Regions from separate parts of the Homo sapiens genome. Here region 1 is linked to region 2. Evidence: promoter capture Hi-C in 16 types of primary human blood cells and fetal thymus (Javierre and others, 2016). All regions are on one chromosome and are shown on one strand. The core of a region is centred on a gene start or on the middle of the fragment in contact, and the rest is flanking DNA. Distances in the headings are between cores, read along the strand shown. Region 1 overlaps ZBTB21 (zinc finger and BTB domain containing 21). Region 2 holds the start of C2CD2 (C2 calcium dependent domain containing 2).

Region 1 (6,971 bases), core at 662-3,161, 53 kb before region 2:
ACAGAGTTTCACTCTTGTTGCCCCAGGCTGGAGTACAATGGCGTGATCTTGGCTCACTGCAACCTCCGCCTCCCTGGTTTTGCAACCTCCGCCTCCCTGGTTCAAGCGATTCTCCTGCCTCAGCCTCCTGAGTAGCCGGGATTACAGGCTTCCGCCACATCGCCCAGCTAATTTTTTTTTTTTTTTTTTTTTTTTTTGTAGAGACGGGGTTTCATCCTGTTGACCAGGATGGCCTTGAGATCTCCTGACCTCGTGATCCACCCCACTTGGTCTCCCAAAGTGCTGGGATTACAGGCATGAGCCACTGCGCCCAGCCGAAGGGACAGTTTTAGTTGTCCGCAAAGCCAATGGAAGTAGAGAGAGCAGATTATAAGCTATGTAAGAGCTAGGTTTGACCAGGTCACAGTGATAGGCTATAAGGGAAAGAGAAGAAATTTTAGGGTCTGGCAACACACCAAAGTAAATCGGGAATATGTGAGGACAAACAGATGTGGGAGCAGGGACGAGAGTTGTGGAGTTTAAGTACCATGCTGGACCTGAGGATATACTGTGATGGAACCGTTCAGTAGGTACCTGAGAGGCTGGAGCCTCAAGAGTCTAAACAGAGATACAGATTTGGGAATCATCGTCCAGTAGTGATTAAAGTCACAAGGTCTAATAGAAAAAGCAAAGAATACTGCCACGTTTTGGGGCTCTGTAACGGATGCTGGAGAAATAAAGGTGAGCCAGTCCAGGTCTTGAGCCTCAAGTTTGATGATTTCTCTCTTTGCCCTGTACCTAGCTTGCCAGGCCTTGTGCTGGGCATCAGGGATACGTGCATGCAAACAAGGGTTCTTTCTTTAGGGAGTCCCTTGGGGGAGACACATGTAAAAGAAGATTAATTGAAGAAGTTGTGGTGTTATTACAGAGAGATGAAGTATTGTGGTAGTTTAGATGACTGAGCTGCTGGCTAGGGGCAAATTACAAAAGCTTTGTAGAGTCGGTGACATTTCAACTGGATCTTTCGAAAGAAGTTAGCCAAGTAAAGGAGAGGGAAGAGAGAGATTTTGGGTGGCAGAGGCTGGATATGCAAGTTTGTAGAGTAGATGGTAAGTAGTGTCCAATAAGGGTGGAGAGATGAATTGTAACCAGAGTATGAAAAGTCTTGTATGCCAGTCTGTAGTTTGGATTTTCTTTAGGAATAGAAAAATCAGTACAGTACTCCAAAGCAGGGCAGTGATGTAATACGCTTTACTTCAGCAAAACAACTAACAGCCATAATTTTCACTCGTGCATTTAATTGGAGTGAAGAGTACAGAAAAGTCAAATCTTTATTGTTGTGGAAGATAACATGTTGAGCATTGATAATGCCAAAAGATATTAAATAGATTATCAGTCTTTAAATAGCTTTCAGTCCTCTTGGGGAGACACAAATGACTAACAATAAAGGCAGTGAATAAACATGTAAATGGTGCTGAAGTTGAGGTATTTGCACGTTATAAGATGAAGTAGTCAAGGAAGGTATATTCATTTGCTTGGGCTGCTATAACAAAGTACTGCAGACTGGATGACTCAACAGATTTCTTTTCCCACAGTTCTGAAAGCTAGAAGTCCAAGAACAAGGTGTCAGCAGGGTTGGCTTCTTCTGAGGCTTCTCTTTGGCTTATAGATGGCATCTTCTTGTCCCTACTTGGTCCTTCCTCTGTTCATGTCTCTGTGCTAATCTTCCTCTCCTGTAAGAACACCAGTTACATCAGTTTAGGGGTCACCCTAAAGCCCTCATTTTAACTTAATTACCTCTTAGAGACCATGTCTCCAAGTATGACTACATTCTCCAGGTACTGGAGGCTAAGTCTTTATCATATAAATTTGGGAGGGAAGAGTGGGGACACAATTCAACCCATAATGGAAGATTTTATGGAGTAGCTGGAACTTGACCTGAGCTTTGAAAGGTGATTAATATTCTGAGTAGTGTGCTGAGGAGGGGTTTAGGTGAGTTCTAGGACTTTCCAGATTGGGGAGTGGGAGAAGTCAGATGTGCAGGTTAGGTCTTAGAGACAGAGTATCTGGAGCAGAAAGGGATCACTAGGGAATAACTAAGGGAAAGAAAAAAAAATTTTTTTTTTTTTTTTGAGACGGAGTTTCGCTCTGGCTCAGCTGTCACCCAGTGGTGACTGGAGTGTAGTGGCACGATCTCAGCTCACTGCATCCTTCACCTCCCAGGTTCAAGCGATTCTCCTGCCTCAGCCTCTCGAGTAGCTGGGATTACAGGCGCCCGTCACCACACCCGGCTAATTTTCGTATTTTTAGTAGAGACAGGGTATTACCATGTTGGCCAGGCTGGTCTCGAACTCCTGACCTCAGGTGATCCACCCGCCTTGGCTTCCCAAAGTGCTGGGATTACAGGCATGAGCCACCACACCTGGCTAAGAAAATTTTAAAAGTCATTTGAAACCAGATTTTATAGAGACCTTTAGTCATTGTTTTAAAAATTTTAGCCTAATGGAGAACAATTGTTTTTATTATTTTATTTTTAAACAGGATCAAAGCTGGTTCTCTTCATTCAGATCTTAGGTCTCAGCTGAAATATTCCATCAAGGTATTTTCTGACCATCCTCTCTAGGCACTGCATCCAGCGATATAGCACCTTATTTATTTCCACCATAACTTTTAGCAGAATCTGAGGTTGTCTTTTTTATTTGTTTCCTTAGCATCTGATTTATCTCACTAGAAAGTGGGGGTCTTGTCTGTTTGGTGCACCCCTATATTTCAGATAAATCTAACCATGCCTTGTACAGAATTGGAATTCAGTAAATAAGTTGAATTAATAATAGGAATATTTAACGTGTATGTTGGGTGAGCGATCAAAGCTTTGTTCTAAGAAGCTCAGTCTAGAAGCTGTATTAGGATGGGTTTGGAAGGCATGACAAGGAACAGTGAATACCACGTGGAAATATATTAGGGTTCTTTAATAACAAGAACAGAAACTGTCTGGCTTGAATGGAAAAAGTAGTTTATTGTAAAGATACAGGGTTGCTCTTGGACTTAAAAGAAAAGCTAAAAAACTGGGCCAGGAAGAAGGACAAAAACCAAGCTAACTCCAGGAATCTATGTAGCAGGCACTAGCAAGGTTGCATTTTCAGGCCTCCGTTGAGATAAGTCAGCTTCATTTATTTATTGCCTTTGTCATTCTTCTCAGGATTCATATTCCGAGGACAAAGTTTCTGATTGGTTTGGCTTTGGTTGTATGGTTAGCCCAGAGGTAGGGGAGAGGAGCACATCAGGCTGTAGCACACAGTGGGACAAGAGCAGTTCTTCTATAGCAAAATCATGGGGCTGTTAACAGGAGGTGGAATGGCTGTGTAGTGGCTGGAAGAAAACAGCAAAGGCTGTGACCAGAGTCTGCTCTGCTAAGGTGCAAAGGAGCTTGAACTATGTTGGAGTAGGATCATTCTCCTGAATGTGGCCAAGAACAACCATCAAACCAAAATCAAACCCCCTTGTTAGAGACTGAAAGTGTGGTGAAATGGAATACAAGATAGTAACATGACTCCTCTTGAAGGATTGGATAAGCTAGTCTAGGTTTGAAATCTGAGGATATTTGCGTTGTCACCAAGTGAGTGATGATAAGACCGAAACTCAGAGGCAACTTCCTATCACCATCAAATAGTAAAATCCAATGGTAGGTGTTACGGCTAAATCCTGAAATGAGGGTTTGGGGATAAGCAGTCTGTGTGTGTGTGTTTATGTTCCAAAGTCAAATGTAGATGCTTTGTTTTTTTAACTAGGTATTTGCCTTGTGTTACATGCATTCCCTCTTTTTTCTAGTATCATGGTTAGGACTATAGAAGCAATCCCCAACATTCCAAAGGACCCATGTTCCCAGAGTTGAAATCTAGGTTGATGCTGGATGTAAAGAGCCATTTTCCTGTAGAACTGGTAGTAGCAGTTTTGTGGCTAGTCTGGGAGCCAACTTAATTTATAGTGTACCTTAGCTATGACACTAGTCCAAGTAGGTGAGATTATTTTGATCCCTTTCCATCTCTGTTTCTCACCCCCTCACTCACCCCCTGGTACCCTTCTGAGTGCCAAGTCGCTTTGCTTTCCTCTGCTTCTCACTAGAATGCTCTATATTCGAAATTGCCTACCTTCCCTCTCCCTCAAAAATCTTAATTCCATACAACTGATTTAACACTCTATAAAGAGGAAAGTATTTGCATTGAATTAATTTATGTTAAGATATGAGGCCGGGCGCGGTGGCTCATATCTTACAGGTGGCTGGCCTGTAATCCCAGCACTTTGGGAGACCGAGGTGGGCAGATCGCCTGAGGTCAGGAGTTCGAGACCGGCCTGACCAATATGGTGAAACCCCATTTCTACTAAAAATACAAAAATTAGCCAGTCCTGGTGGCTGGCGCCTGTAGTCCCAGCTACTCAGGAGGCTGAGACAGGAGAATTGCTTGAACCCAGGAGGCGGAGGTTGCAGTGAGCCAAGATCATGCCACTGCACTCCAGCCTGGGTGACAGAGTGAGACTCTTCAAAAAAAAAAAAAAAAGATGTGAGATATGAGTCCCCCACCCCCTTAGCATTTATTACCTGAGGAATTTGAAGTGATGGTATGAAATAATCTTCTGGAATCCAGTTCTGAAGGGTTTTGTAGCCATTCCAGGGAATTGGAAGTTGAGGCCAGGGCAAGCCCTTGGAAGGTTTTAAGCCCCAGCAAGGCCAGATGAGCATTTCTGAAAAGCGTCTATAGTAGAAATGTAAAGAATGGAACCTTTAGTATTAGAGGTTGACTATCCCTTATCTGAAATGCTTGGGACCAGAAGTGTTTCAGATTTCAGATTGTTTGGGATTTTGAAATATTCTCATTATACCCAGTGGTTCAGCGTCCCTAATCCAAAAGTCCAAAATGCTCTAATGAGCCTTTCCTTTGTGCATCATGTCGTTGCTCAGAAAGTAGTTTTGGGTTTTTGGACTAGAGATATTCAGCTTGTATTATAATTGTCAAAGGAGTGATGAGTCCCAAGCCTTCCTTAGGACTATTCACTCATAGTTAATAGTGAATAGTTCCCACTATTCACTCTTCCACCCTCCTACACCCTGGCCAAATTAATTGCTTCCTGGAATCAGTATTCCCGTAGCATTCTTCACATCCTTTGTTAATTATTGTCTGTCCTAACATGGAAATGTGAGCTACAGGAGAACAAGAAGCAGGCCAGTTACTCATCTCCCCATCACCAGCACCTCTTGTGATGTGTGGTGGGTAGCAGGCCCACGCAAGCATCTGTGAGGGGAAGTGGAGAAGGAAGGAAGATGTGCATGTGCCACATGGGAAGTGCTGAACGTACTGGGGCTTTCAAACATGTTGCCTCTTCTGTCCTTCATAAAAATCCTATGTGGTGGGTAGTGTTAGCCATGTTTAACAGGTAAGGAAACTAGTCAGAAAGGTTGAGTCATCTTTAGAAGGTTCCATGCCTAATAGGTGGCGGAGCCAGGATTTGAGACAAATAGACTGATTCGAAAGGCTTTTCCATGGAACTGTAAGGTCTTCTGTGAATTGTTAACCATAAAGATTCTCTCATTTTGAAATTTCAGAAGACATGAAGTAGAAACAATCCAGGAAGGCTTTGGGAAGCTATTTGTGTGCGAGGATCAAAGTGGTAAGCAAGCCGGCCCTATTTTAGAAACTGGTTTTCCTGGGGGGTTTTCCTCTTAGTTTTTTCTGTTGCTCGTAAATAGACCTTTTCTCCAAATTTCACCCACTGGTCTTTTAAGAGCTCCAAGGTTTTTCCACCATGACTGAAGTGGCAGAAGTTCTGCCGTGATGAGTCAGGTGGAGATGAGCCGTGGAAAGGAGGGGCGTAGACGGTGGTGGCAGCAGTGCGTGTTTATGTGTAAGATGCACTGCTTCTGTAAGTCGGAGGCCCTGATTACTCATAATGAAAACCTGCATGGAAATTTGGAGTGATGTGCCAGCAAACTTATCGGTCTAGATCTGAAAAATACACTGAGGAGAAAGTACACCCGGCAACAAAGCTCGCCTTATCTGACAGCAGAAGAGCAGAGAAATCAAAAGTTTTTGAGGATTCGGTGTACACAGCCACCAGCCACAAACAGTCTTGCTGGATTATCTCGTGATCGTCAGCAGTTGTGATTTTCCCCCTTTTTACTTACATTCTTGATGGATGGAGCATTTTATATTTTTAGGTAATTGTTAAACTCAAATATACTGACTGTCATTAAAACACAAAAATTCAATATGTTAATTGTCTGTCTGCAGCCAGACTAGGAAAGGGTACATTGTTTTCAAAACTTAATAATTGAATTAAAATGTAAAAAAAACAAGGGCCTTAATGTGAAGGTGAGGGATCTGCATCTCCTAGCTACCCCTGTCTCCTATCTAGACATCTAGAGTCTCTAGATCCTGGGGTACTGGGGAGAATGGACAATGTTGCTTTCCTGTGCAAGATCCTCAGATGACATATTTTAGCCCCCAGGGCGCTCATGCCTCCATCTTCCTCCAGCCTCATGGGCATTTCCTCCCCTATGTGTACCTTTACCTTTCACCAGGCAAAGCCACCTGTGGTTCCCTTGGATTCCTCCTGCTCTGTCTTGTCTCTGTAGTGTTGCATGTACTGCAGCCCAGCCAGCTGATGTGAATCTTGCCCTGCTACTTATTATCTGTCTGACATTGAGCATGTTACTTAACCCTCTGTGCCTCGGTTTTCTCATCTGTAGAATGGAGATAATAATAGTACCTAACTCCTAGGGTTGATGTCAATATTGAGTTAATACATTAAAAGTGTTTTCTTTTGTGTGTGTGGCAGAATAAGCACCCAAATTATAGCTGTTATTGAGTACCTAGTTACTGTTCTACTGAAAGGAATGGAAAATAAATACTCGTCCCTCGAAATGTCCTTCATCCTTCCTATCTCTTCCCAGCATTCCCTATAAAACTTTCTTCGTAGAACGCCCTTCCTGGCCTCCA
Region 2 (6,608 bases), core at 514-3,013:
TCACCTGGGCAATCCCCGTCTAATTTCACCTCCCTGACAGCGTCCTATCCTGTTCCCCACAAAGGCTCTCCGTCCAGCTGCTGTGCCATTCCTTCCTCTTTCCTGAAGAAAATCCGGGCCCACGGATTCAGGGCCAGAATCCCCTCTGATGGACCATCCACTGGCCCCGCAGCAGACTCCTGGCTAGGGAAGAGAAGGCCAAATGCTCAGTCTATCTAATTCCTTTCAAGGTCAAGTCCCCTTAATACAGCTGCAGAAAATAACAGGGGAATCACTTTTTTATGGTTTAGGCCTGTTTTAGGCCCCGGAGAATCTCAGGCTAGTATGTTTCTATGGCACTCCCTAAGGACCGCGTCCACTCTGCAAGAGGAGGGCACAGGGGCATGTCCCACACACCACACCACACACACACACACCATACCACATGCACCACACTGACACACCACCCACACACCACGCCACATGCACCGCACTCACACATTACACATACACACACTCCACATCCATGTACCACACATACACACACCACCGTGTTCACCACACACACAAACCACACCACATGCAACGCACTTACACAATACATATACACACAGCACCACACCACACCCATGTGCCACACACACACGCTCACATCACCCTGTGCACCACACACACACGCACCACACTGACACACCACATACATACACCACACCACATCACACATACACACCACACACACCACATGCACCACACACACACACCACATGCTGTGCACTTACACATCACACGTACACACACCCATGCACCACACCGACACCACACACGCACCACACCACATGCACCACGCTTACACATCACACACACACACCACACACACACACCACACACACTGCACTTATACATCACACATACACACCCATGCACCACCATACACACTCGCACCATCCTGTGCACCACACACCACACACATACACCACATGCTGTGCACTTACACATCACACGTACACACACCCATGCACCACACCGACACACCACACACGCACCACACCACATGCACCACGCTTACACATCACACACACCACATGCACCACACTGGCACGCAACACACATACCACACCACATGCACCACGCTTACACACACACCACACCCATGCACCACACATACACACTCACACCATCCTGTGCACCACACACCACACCCACAACACATCACACCACATGCGCCACACACATCACACCACATGCACCCCCGCCCCACCCGCACACTGAATGAATGACACAGCCACACAGAAGGCAGGGCCTGGGCCTGGTGCTGAGCCCCTCCTTGCCTCTGAGAAGCACGCCCCCTAAGGCAGGCCCAGCCCCTGGCTCCAGGGGCAGCCACGGATTTCCAGGGACTTTCCGAGGACTGAGCCTGGATCCTGTCTCGCTGGCGAGCAAATGGCAGTCCTCGAAATCACCCTGACTGCGCGCTGTGCACACGCACACTCACACATGTGCACACACACGCACTTGTGCAAGCGCGCACACGAGCCAAGCCAAGCAGCCGCACAGCAGCCGCCGGGGTTGGGCTGATGAATCCGGAGGCCCGGGTCACCTCGCGGCCCGCGGGCAGGCGCCGGAGGGGCGGGCGACGCGCGCACGTGGCGGGGCCGGGAAGGCCGGGCCTTTAGGGGGGCGGGGGCACGCCGCGTTGGGAGCAGGGGGGAGGACTGCGGCCCCCGCAGGCCCGGCCGCGCCCCCTCCCTCGGGCACCGCCCCCGCCCCGCCCCGCCCCGCGGCCAGAGCCTCCTCCGGCCACCGCTGGGCCGCGGGCGGGACGCCCGGGGCGGCGCGCGCAGGAGGAAGCGCGGCCCGCAGCGGCCCAGGAACTTCCCAGACGCCGAGTCGGGAGCGCGGGCCGCGGGGTCCGCTCGCGCCCCTGTTCCGCAGGTGTGCGGGGCTTGCGCCCAGCCCGGGCCGCGGCCGCCGCGCGTTTCCTCCCCGCTTGCCCGCCCAGAGGCCCCCGGCCACGCTCCTCGCCGGGCTCCGACCCCGCCGCGCCCCCTCCACGCCCCCAGCGCGCTGTGGCCGCAGCCAGCGCGTGTCCTGAGTCCGCCGTTCCGGCCCGGGGCTGCCGGGGAAGTTGGGGCGAGGCGGGCCGGGGATGCGCCATGGCCATGGCCCGGCTGGGCTCGTGGCTCGGGGAGGCGCAGTGGCTCGCGCTGGTGTCGCTCTTCGTCGCGGCCCTGGCCACGGTAGGCCTGTACCTGGCGCAGTGGGCGCTGGCCAGGGCGCGACCCCAGCCCCAGCGGCGGGCGGTGGAGCCTGGAGAGGGGCCGCGCCCGGGGTCCGACGCGCTGCTCTCCTGGATCCTGACGCTGGGCAGCTGGAGGAGCCAGTGGCAGGCGGCCTGGGTGACCGCCCTGAACGAGGAGGCCGAGAGGAAAGGGGTGAGTTTCCGGGACTGCGGGCCGGGGGGCGGCAGATGCCGGGGCGGGCGGTCCGGGCCGAGGTCTTTCCTGGAGGCGTCGCTGCAGCCCCTGACCCAGGCTAAGGGAGTCCTCCCCCCAGCGCAGACCATCCTCGAGAGTTAGGAGAGAGACGGGGGAGCGAGGCCCCTTGACGGAGAGACAAGACAAAGTGATTGATTTTATTCTCCAAACGGCAGGTGCTCCAGGCCCTGGGCTCCGCGAGGGACAGGCTGGCAGTTGGAGGGACCGTCAGAAGTGCTCATCCGCGCCAGCCAGTACCTGCCTTGCCTGGAGTCCCGGGGCGAATTCCCGTGCCCGATCGGACACTTACTGAGCTTGCACATGATACATGAATAGCTGTGACCCCAATGTGCTTCCGCCTCTCATAGAGCTGAATTTCACCAAGAATTTATCTCCAAAGACTTGCATTTCTTGGCATATAAAAATAGTGACCGTTTGCTGAGGGCCAGCCGCTGGGCAGACATCCTACCGAGGCTTTCGGTGCGTCTGCCATCTCTGAATCCTCACAACTCCCGGGACAGGGGTGTTATCACTGTTTTACAGATGAGGAAACCAAGGCCCGGAGAGGGCAAGCAGCCTGCCCAGTGCCACACAGCTCGTGGGCGGCAGAGCTGGCATGTGAATCCAGCTGCCCTGGCCTGCAAGCTAAGGGCCTCGTGTCTTACCTCTGCTGCCTCACAGTCCTGTGGGTGTTTCTGTAGTCGCTGATTACTCGTTGACTTATTTTTGCTTTTAAGACATCTTAGTATAACGACAAGCTCCTGGCATGTACTATTCTTAGGCATTTCACAGGAGAAGTTGGAGCCTGGGTGGGTTTGGGGAGGCACCCCTAGTCTTGGCCGCTGCTCCGCCCTTCCAGGCCACAGTTTCCTGCACATGCCTGTGCAGCTCAGTGGTCATTCGCTGTGGAAATAGCAGAATTGCTCATTTTCAATGTCCGGCCCCATCAACCTTCAAAATATTCCATGGCGGGCCCTGTGCCTGGTCCTTGTGCATGGCCTTGGAAGACATGGCCATGGAATTAAAAAACAAAAAAGCTTTGACTATCAGTTAGCAGCCATCCAACAAATCAAGAGACCTTGTTTTGAACTCTTGAAAAAGAACATAAATGACTGTACTTTTTGGAGGAAAAAGGCTTCAGGGTCAGTTGACTGACTTTTGTCCTGGTGCCCAGAATCTGTGCCTCAGCTGTCCAGAGCTGGAGAGTGTCTCAGGGAAACCAGCTGTCTCTTGTGGGAGCCCTCCACCCCTGTTGGCCTCACATCCAGGAGCAAATGCAGGTATTTCCCCAGGAAGCTGCCATCACTGACCCCTGACTGACCTGGAATCAAGGCTTCTGAGGCTGAGTCCCCTCCAGGCTGGTGGCTTGATTGGGCACCAGTCTCATCTGTGTCCTTTGTAGGAGGCAGGCAAGTGTTGGGTGAATGACCTTTAAGTTCAGCTTCTAACTCTGGAGTTTCAGGCTTAGAGGCAGTGACCCTACCTCCTGTATATTTGGGATGGTTCGTTTCCTGACATCTATGGATTGGCTTCAGAAAATATGATCCTCTTGGATATGATCCTTCCATATTCCCATCTGACTGAAGTGTTGAGAGGCAGAGAAGAGGATGTCCCTGGCATCTGTCTTAGGCTGGTCAAGTCAATCTGAGAACACTGAAAGAAATATTTGAAAGTTTTGGATGAAAACTTTTTACTTGAGTCTTTGTGTGGGAGCAGGGAGGGGTTGCGTTCAGGGAGAGGAGAGAGGGTCTCACCTTGTTTGCGCCTTCTCTGTTCTCTCTCTGCTGTTGGCCACACACTGCAGTCTCAGACACCTGTCTCTCCTGACCTCCTGCCTGGAAGAGGCAACAGTGTCCCGGATTCATGCTCAAAGCAACCCAGGGCCATCTCTGGCATTTTTGCATGGACATAGTCCATTAGTTCTGTGATGTCAGTTTTTGGTATTGCTTACTTTCCTGGGGACGGGGGTGGGGGAACACAGCCCTGATGCCTGGGAATGTCATTTGATTTGCATTCAAATGGAAGGTTTTGCAGGCAGATAGGATCTGGGTGACTGGGCTCCCTGTGAGTGACGGTCACACACCCTCCCGGCATCCTGAGCCGTCGCTGCCGTGTCAGTGATGGCATTGTGGGTGAGCAGGTAGTGGTGTTTGCATTCCTGGCCGCCCCGAGTCCAGCGATTGTCACACACATCCCAGCATCCTGGGCCATCGCTGTTGTGACAGTGATGGCGGTGTGGGAGAGCAGGGGCTGCTGTGTCCATTCGTGGCTGCCCTCCCCCACCTCCATTCCCACTAATCCCGGATTAGGGCTGACACTCCAAGCCCGCTCTCGCCTGGACAGCTACAGCTTAGTGCTCCCCCTCCTGCCTCTGCCTTGTCCTGATATCACTCTGTCCTACCCAGGGAGGAGACCAGTTCTTGGCCTGTCGCTTAGGGATTGAGAAGACACTGGTAATAACTTAATCATGTCCAGCATTCTGTCTGAAAAGTGGAATTTTCTGTCCAATTGAGACAATAACTCCTCCCATTCCAAGTTTTACCCCACCTTTGTATTTTAAGATGGAAAGAAACCCTAAACTCTTCTAGCCAAGCCCCTTCTCCAGAAGGGGAGACTGAGGCCCGTGAACTGGAGGAATTTGCCAAGGTCTGCGCATTGGTGGCTGCAGCCTGTTCCCTGGTGGGATGCAGTATCAACTTGGAGACCTAAATGTTTCCTTTAAATGAGAGCCAGCGAGAAGAGCTCAGAGAGTAGAGTTGTTAATGTGTTATCCCAAACAGTGGGGCTCGCACCTTCCAGGATCCAAGGACTGGTCAGCACCGGAGGAGTCCTCCTGCTCTCTGATGACCACTGCAGCAGCACTGACTCCCCGTATTGCAGGGGACCTCGGATTCCCACCCTCACTCCAGAAAGGGGTCTAAATTATATGTGACAGTGATTTGCACTGACTTTGGAGGAAACCATTGCTGATCTGCCTGCTGGCCAGGTGGACGCCAGGTGTGCAGGGATCACAGGAGTCTTGCCCAGAGAGCTTAGTGACACACGTGCCTGCCCCCCACATCCGCCTCAGTAGGCTTGGGGAGCACACTTTGAGAGTGTCCCATGGTTGAGAATCACTGGTGAGAAGCTGCTAGTACACACTTGCCATCCATCAGAGTTCCTCTTTCTTTTTTTTCCTTTTTTTTTTTATTATGATACTTTAAGTTCTAGGGTACATGTGCACAACGTGCAGGTTGTTACATAGGTATACGTGTGCCATGTTGGTTTGCTGCACCCATCAACTTGTCATTTACATTAGGTATTTGTCCTAGTGCTATCCCTTCCCCAGCCGCCCAGTCCCTGACAGGCCCTGGTGTGTGATGTTGCCCGCCCTGTGTCCATGTGTTCTCATTGTTCAACTCCCACCTATGAGTGAGAACATGCGGTGTTTGGTTTTCTGTCCTTGTGATACTTTGCTTAGAGTGATAGTTTTCAGCTTCATCCATGTCCCTGCAAAGGACATGAACTCATCCTTTTTTATGGCTGCATAGTATTCCATGGTGTATATGTGCCACATTTTCTTAATCCAGTCTATCATTGATGGGCATTTGGGTTGGTTCCAAGTCTTTGCTATTGGGAATAATGCTGCAATAAACATGTGTGCATGTGTCTTTATAGTAGCATGATTTATAATCCTTTGGATATATACCCAGTAATGGGATCGCTGGGTCAAATGGTATTTGTAGTTCTAGATCCTTGAGGAATCGTCACACTGTCTTCCACAATGGTTGAACTAATTTACACTCCCACCAACAGTGTAAATAGAGTTCCTCTTTCACCCAGCACCACGTAAAAGCAATTGTTTGAGCTTTGACTCTTGCCTCTCCACTTGGTGTGGTGTTGCAGACCCCTAATTCCCATTGATGTGATCACTCTTTGGTCACACAGAACAGAAGATCCCAGAACTGGCTCAGTCTCAGGTCAGGCTCCTTAGACTGAGAACTAATATTATGGTATCCAAAAGCAGCAGTTGAGCTTTTCCTTTTGCTCCCCTGCGATTACATCAATATTTACAAAGTGGTCCATGATAATCAGTTACACCCCCAACATCCCCTTGGGAGTCTCCGGGACTGCTGTCCTACAGTCTCCTCGACTCTGGGATCCAGCATGCTTGCC

Evidence for each region. The method cuts DNA at HindIII sites, captures the fragments that hold promoters and counts their contacts. A CHiCAGO score of 5 or more calls a contact.
Region 1: a fragment that was not itself captured here is called in contact with the fragment with the promoter of C2CD2 in region 2 in 1 of 17 cell types (endothelial precursors); the score reaches 5.9 in endothelial precursors.

The regions. Positions count from the first base shown.
Region 1 is chr21:42,001,569-42,008,539 of GRCh38, reverse strand. It overlaps ZBTB21 (zinc finger and BTB domain containing 21), which reads left to right. Exons shown (of 3, transcript NM_001098402.2): 2 at 5,579-5,643. Among named protein-coding and RNA genes, the nearest start is that of ZNF295-AS1, 4.1 kb to the left of the region's middle. The HindIII fragment of the contact is 1,880 bases long and covers 972-2,851 here.
Region 2 is chr21:41,949,173-41,955,780 of GRCh38, reverse strand. It overlaps C2CD2 (C2 calcium dependent domain containing 2), which reads left to right and starts at 1,763. Exons shown (of 14, transcript NM_015500.2): 1 at 1,763-2,411. The coding sequence starts at 2,133. RefSeq lists a silencer at 1,471-2,140 and enhancers at 2,017-2,791, 4,670-5,175. The HindIII fragment of the contact is 8,952 bases long and covers 1-3,492 here.